2 separate regions of the Homo sapiens genome follow, and region 1 is linked to region 2. The links are contacts of gene promoters, found by promoter capture Hi-C in human tissues and cell types (Jung and others, 2019). All regions are on one chromosome and are shown on one strand. Each heading gives the region's core, a stretch centred on a gene start or on the middle of the fragment in contact. The rest is flanking DNA. Distances are from core to core; before and after follow the strand shown. Region 1 overlaps EVA1C (eva-1 homolog C). Region 2 holds the start of DONSON (DNA replication fork stabilization factor DONSON).

Region 1 (2,700 bases), core at 2-2,501, 1.1 Mb before region 2:
TACCTTCTATGAAGGAGAATTCGTCATGTCATTCAACACTCGTGAGGCCAGGAAGCTATTAAAGGGATGTTTCAAGCTGTTTCTAGCACATTCCAAAATAAATGAGGAGGGAAGAGTCTTTGTTTTCTGTATTTCTTTGAATTTGTGTCTATACATTAATAAGTTATACATAATTAGAATTTACATTTGTTGAGCGCTTATAATGCCAGGCGCTATTCTAACTGCTTTTCATGTTCTGAGTCATTCAATCCTCACAATGTCATGAGCTGGTACTATTACCCCCATTTTACAGATGACTAAACAGAAGATTCCTATATATACACGTAAAACAGTTACACAGATACTCAGCAAACATGAGCTCATGAGTGATTTTAACCACTGACTTGTTTAGACCAACGGTTAGCAAACTTTTTCTTAAAAGGCAAGATGATAGGCTGGGCACAGTGGCTCATGCCTGTAATCCCAGCACTTTGGGAGGCCAAGGCAGGTGGATCACTTGAGGTCAGGAGTTCGAGACCAGCCTAGCCAACACGGTGAAACCCCATCTCTACCAAAAAAATAAAAAATTAGCTGGGTGTGGTAGTGCGCGCCTGTAATCCCAGCTACTTGGGAGGCTGAGGCAGGAGAAATCACTTGAACCTAGGAGGCAGAGGTTGCAGTGAGCTGAGGTCGTGCCACTGCACTCCAGCCTGGGTGACAGAGTGAGAAACTGTCAAAAAAAAAAAAGCAAGATGATAAATATTTTAGGCATTGTGGGTCAAATCCTCTCTGCCACAATTACTCGACTCTCCATTGCAGCTCAAAAGCAGCCACAGATATTACATAATGCATGAACTTGGCTGTATTCCAATAAAACGTTCTTTTTGGACACTGAATTTTAATTTCATTTTATTTTCACATGTTCCACGTTCTTCTTTTTTTTTTTTTTTTTAAACCAGCCATTTAAAAATGTAAAAGCCTGAGGCCAAGAGTTCGAGACTAGCCTGGGCAACATAGTAAGACCCTACCTCTATTTAATTAAAAAAAATTTAAATAAAAGTAAATAAATAAAAATGTAAAAAAACATTCTTAACTCAAAGGCTGTACAAAAACAGACAGCAGGATGGAGCTGGCCTGTAACCTGTTTTTGTAAATAAAGTATGGTTTGCAAAACCTAAAATATTTACTTTCTTGCCCTCTATAGAAAAAAGTTTGCTGACTCCTGGTTTAGAGTTTAAAACAGCAGAGCCCCTGGTGGTAATAGCCATCAACCAGGGTACCTAACAGTGCTGTGGGCCAGGATCAAGTGGAGCTGGCTCCCAAATCTCTCCAAAAACAGGGTCCTACCCCACTTGGGGAGGGCTGGGTGGAGGAGCAGAAGAAAGAGTTCAGAAAACAGACCCCAGTGGGAGAACTTATTATTGGTTCCTGCAGACGGCTCTCCCTGGTAGACAGGAGGCTTATAGCTGTGGCATCAAATAAGAAAACATGTTTTTTTTCTTTTTTGTCCTAGTAATCCCAGGGGCTTAGAATATAAACATGATTGCATTTTTCATATGCCTATTACCAAAGAGCTCTCTCTCTGTTATCTTATTATCTTACTTCGTCATCACTAACCCTATAAACATATGTAGATGAGGAAGCTGAAGGCCGCCAGGGTAAGTATCGTCCAGCCCACGTCACACAGCTGGGAAGTGCTGGGACTGACTCGTCCTGAGTGCTCAGGAAACATAGCTGTTCCCACAGGAACTCCTACAGTGACAGGTATGGAGAAGGCATGTCTCTCTCAGTCTTGCAGACCATAAGGGTGAAGGGCCTATCTGCAGGATGCAGAGGAGGGTGGGTGTGGAGTGAGGAGGCTCAGCTGCCACTCTGGCATTCATTTTTAGTAAGTTGAAATCCACATAATGTAAAATTAACTCTCTCAATGACGTTTAGTCCATTTGCAATGTTGTGCAAACACCACCTCTATCTAGTTCCAAAACATTTCATCACCCCAAAAGAAAACTCTCTGCCCGTTAAGCAGTCACTCCCCATTCCTCCCTCCCTCCAGCCCCTGGAAAACACCAATTTGCTTTCTGTCACTATGGATTAGCCTGTTCTGGATAGTTCATGTAGATGGGATCACACAACATGTAGTCTCTTGTGACTGCCTCATTTCACTTAACATAACGTCCTCAAGATCCATCTATGTTGTAGCAAGTGTAGCATGTGTTCATTCCTTTTCAGGGCTGAATAATATTCCATTGTACGGCTAGCCCACAGTTTGTTTATCCAGCCATCAGCTGGTGGACATTTGGCTGGTTCCTTTGGCCACTGTGAATAGTGCTGCTGTGAACGTTCATGTGTGGCATTTCACCAGCACAAAGCAGCAACTACAGACAGAGCTGGTGGGAAATCCTGTGTGTCCACTCAGTGGAAGGAAGGGGAAAGTCAAGATGGGTCAGAATGGCACCCCCTCTTCTACCCTCCACACCTGCCAATTTCAAAGCAAGCTTCCCTTACACAGGCCCCCTGCAGGTGGGAGAGCAGGGATTGGCCAAGAGAGGTGTCATACAGATGGGCTGGGGGTGGTTTGGGTGGAGATTGAAATTCCTCAGGATTTCCAGGTACCGGAATTTCTCCCATAGGGAGAAATTGAAGGGGTTGAGGATGATGTGTTTTAACCCTTTCCCCGTTTAGGAAAAAAAAAAAAACGCGACTCACTGTCAGCGCTCATTT
Region 2 (2,700 bases), core at 106-2,605:
ATCAAACCAACTCCTTTACCTTGGCTGATGCGGTATTTTCATCCCTGGTTGAGATGATCAAGCCTCTCTGTAAAACTACTTTCCAAGCAAAATGCTTCTGAGAAGTATAAATGTATTTTTAAAAATAGGCTCAAATCCTATGAAAAAAAAGTTTATACAAATACACATTCTAATGATATTTAAAAAGTATTACCTGAGGTAATTCAGTAACAGTTGTTCTTTCAGGAAACTTCTCTTCCCATAGCAAATCATTTTCTTGATTAGAATCTAAAAACTGAGGTTAAATATATTCTCCTTTAAAATTTAAAGGATGCTGAAGTTTGCGTTAAATATGTACAGAGCCTCACCTGGCATACATGTTTCTCAATAAACGCAAGTACACCTAAATTCAGAGGCACCCCATCCAATCTATGAGTTTCAACACTTCAGTTTTGTGTCTGAACTTTAGTATCAAAATTGAGGGGAACAGGGACCGGCGTTTCAAACCGAAAGATCCAAAAGGCTTTGGGTAAGACAGATGCTAGTGAATTCTGACCCCACGAATCCTCGACATTCCCCCATCTCCAGAATAATTTGGAGTGCGTGAGAGAAGGGAGGCCCTAAATCACGGGGGAAGCAGGGCTTGTCACCTGCCCCATCGAACAGCGTCCTTGCAAGATGGGGGCTCTCAGGGTTTTTCGAGCTCTTTTCCAAGTCACCTCTAAGTCCTCTCCAAGGGGCTCCTCGCTGCCCTCTGGGGCCCCCTCACTTTCCTCGGGAACGCGTCCCGTGAGCACAGCCCGCAGCGGGGTAGCCAGGGGAGCGCTCTTCCCACAAACCCGGCCTTGCCAGAATCGCGGCTCCCAGGGCGGGGTACCCTAAGGCCACGGGCGGCCGAAGTCTTCGCGCCCATTTCCTTGCCTCGAACGCGAGGACTTTCCATCCCCCATTCACAGCTGGCTCAACCCACGAAAGACAAGAGCCCCTTGGCGGCCAGGCTACAAGACACTCACCGGGACCGGGGCCTCCGGCTGCTCGCGGGCCGGCCCGTCGGGGGGCTCCGCGGCGACCCGCGGTCGGTTGTCCAGGCGGGCGAAGGGGTTCCTCCGAGCAGCGGCCGGGCCGCCGCCGCTGCCACCGCCTCTGCCCCCCGCAGCAGGGAAAGGGCGAAGAGGCAGCCCCGCCACCAGGGCGGCTCGGCGGGCCGCCGGCTCCGTCAGCTCACGGGGCGGGGAGGCGGCAGCTCCACGGCTCCGGGCCCTTTTCCGTCGGAGCCGCACTACCTCGGGCGGCTTTCGGAAGCCCGGTGAGTAGCCGGGCACCGAAAGGGCCATGACGCGCGGCGGCTGAGGGTAGCCGGCCGCCCTACAGAGACTTCCCGCGCGCGCCGGGCCCGCCCCTGACGTGGCGCCTCGCCGAGCTCCCGCCCCCGACGCGGCCCCGCCTCCGCCCCCGCCGGTTCCGAGCGGAGCATGCGCAGTGGGCAGCCCGCGAGACGCAGCCCGCAGCGGCGATCCCGGGTGGCCGTCAACGCCCACTGTCCCAGCGGTGACCCTGCCCTGGCGCTTCTGCCAGGTCCTCGGCCAGAGTCCAGTCGCCAGGTTCAGCGACGCTTCTGGAAAGTATGCGATCCAGGGCGCTGATGTGCACTACCCTGTGGGGCACCGAAATAGCTTAACTCTATTTAAGCCCGCAGCAGGGATGTGATCAGCCCGGGGTTTGGCGCCTGGATGAAAAGGAAACAAACTTGAGCTGCGGCGATGGGCTGCTGCTTCCATAAACTTAAGAGAGGGCAGTGGCTACTGCTCTCAAGAGGCGAGGAGAGGGGACTAGGCCACCTTCCTCAACCCCCAGAGAACTCAGATAAGACGTCAGCACGCTTCCTATGCCAGCGCAGCCTACCGACATCCCTCCCTTCCCCGTTCCCAGTGCCTGGTCATCTCAGACTTCCAGGCAGCTGCCACTGGCAAGTTAATGGGATCTTCTTTGATCCTGGGGAAAGCCGGAGTGAATGAATAGTTGAAAACACAAAATTTAAGTGCCTATGGGCTAAGTCTTTTAAGACTTCAAAATATACTCAAATGCTTAAATTATGACAGCAAAGACTTAAGGAAGGTGTTGAGAACGGAGTTGATACAAAATTAATACGTTACTTTGATAGCTTAGCAAAGGCCTGCAACAGCTTTTATCAAGAGTAGTGTGACTTTTGCTGAAAGCAGCAGTTTTCTTCATGGAAGGAATTTTATAGCAGGGGCAAAATATATAGAAACAATGAAAAGGTTTTTAGAAAAATTCCCTTAAGATGTTAATTATAGAATTATCTTGATCATTTGCACAAGAATTTTTCAAACACTTTTCAAATGTGTCAACTGAGCATCTTGTCTTAGCAGAGAAACGTGCTTAAAAATGCAACTTGTTTTATCTTCCTTGGTTTTTCTCAACAATTTCCAAAGAAAATTCTGGCTTCAAATACTGGAATATGTTCATCCGACTGAGGTCTGAGAAAGAAGAAAATTAAAATTGAACAACTTGCTTTTTTCTTCCTTGATTTTTCTGAACAGCTTCCATGGAAACTTTTGCCTCATACAGTGGAATGGGTTCATCCAACTGAGGTCTGAGAAGGAATGAAATTAGAAATGTCAGGTCTAGTTAAAGATAAGTAGAACAAACAGGGTGGTATATGACAAATGCTAGTGCTCAAATCTATTAGTGTATTAATTA

What was found. The method cuts DNA at HindIII sites, captures the fragments that hold promoters and counts their contacts. A contact is called where the count stands out against the background at its distance.
Region 1: a contact is called between a fragment that was not itself captured here and the fragment with the promoter of DONSON in region 2, in 1 of the 25 tissues and cell types used here (dorsolateral prefrontal cortex).

The regions. Positions count from the first base shown.
Region 1 is chr21:32,515,270-32,517,969 of GRCh38, forward strand. EVA1C (eva-1 homolog C) reads left to right here. Exons shown (of 8, transcript NM_058187.5): 8 at 1-118. Among named protein-coding and RNA genes, the nearest start is that of TCP10L, 69 kb to the right of the region's middle. The HindIII fragment of the contact is 5,464 bases long and covers 1-2,700 here.
Region 2 is chr21:33,587,329-33,590,028 of GRCh38, forward strand. It overlaps DONSON (DNA replication fork stabilization factor DONSON), which reads right to left and starts at 1,356. Exons shown (of 10, transcript NM_017613.4): 1 at 993-1,356; 2 at 194-274. The coding sequence starts at 1,313. It overlaps CRYZL1 (crystallin zeta like 1), which reads right to left. Exons shown (of 13, transcript NM_145858.3): 13 at 2,013-2,593. The coding sequence ends at 2,494. RefSeq lists a silencer at 897-1,586 and an enhancer at 1,045-1,544. The HindIII fragment of the contact is 19,336 bases long and covers 1-2,700 here.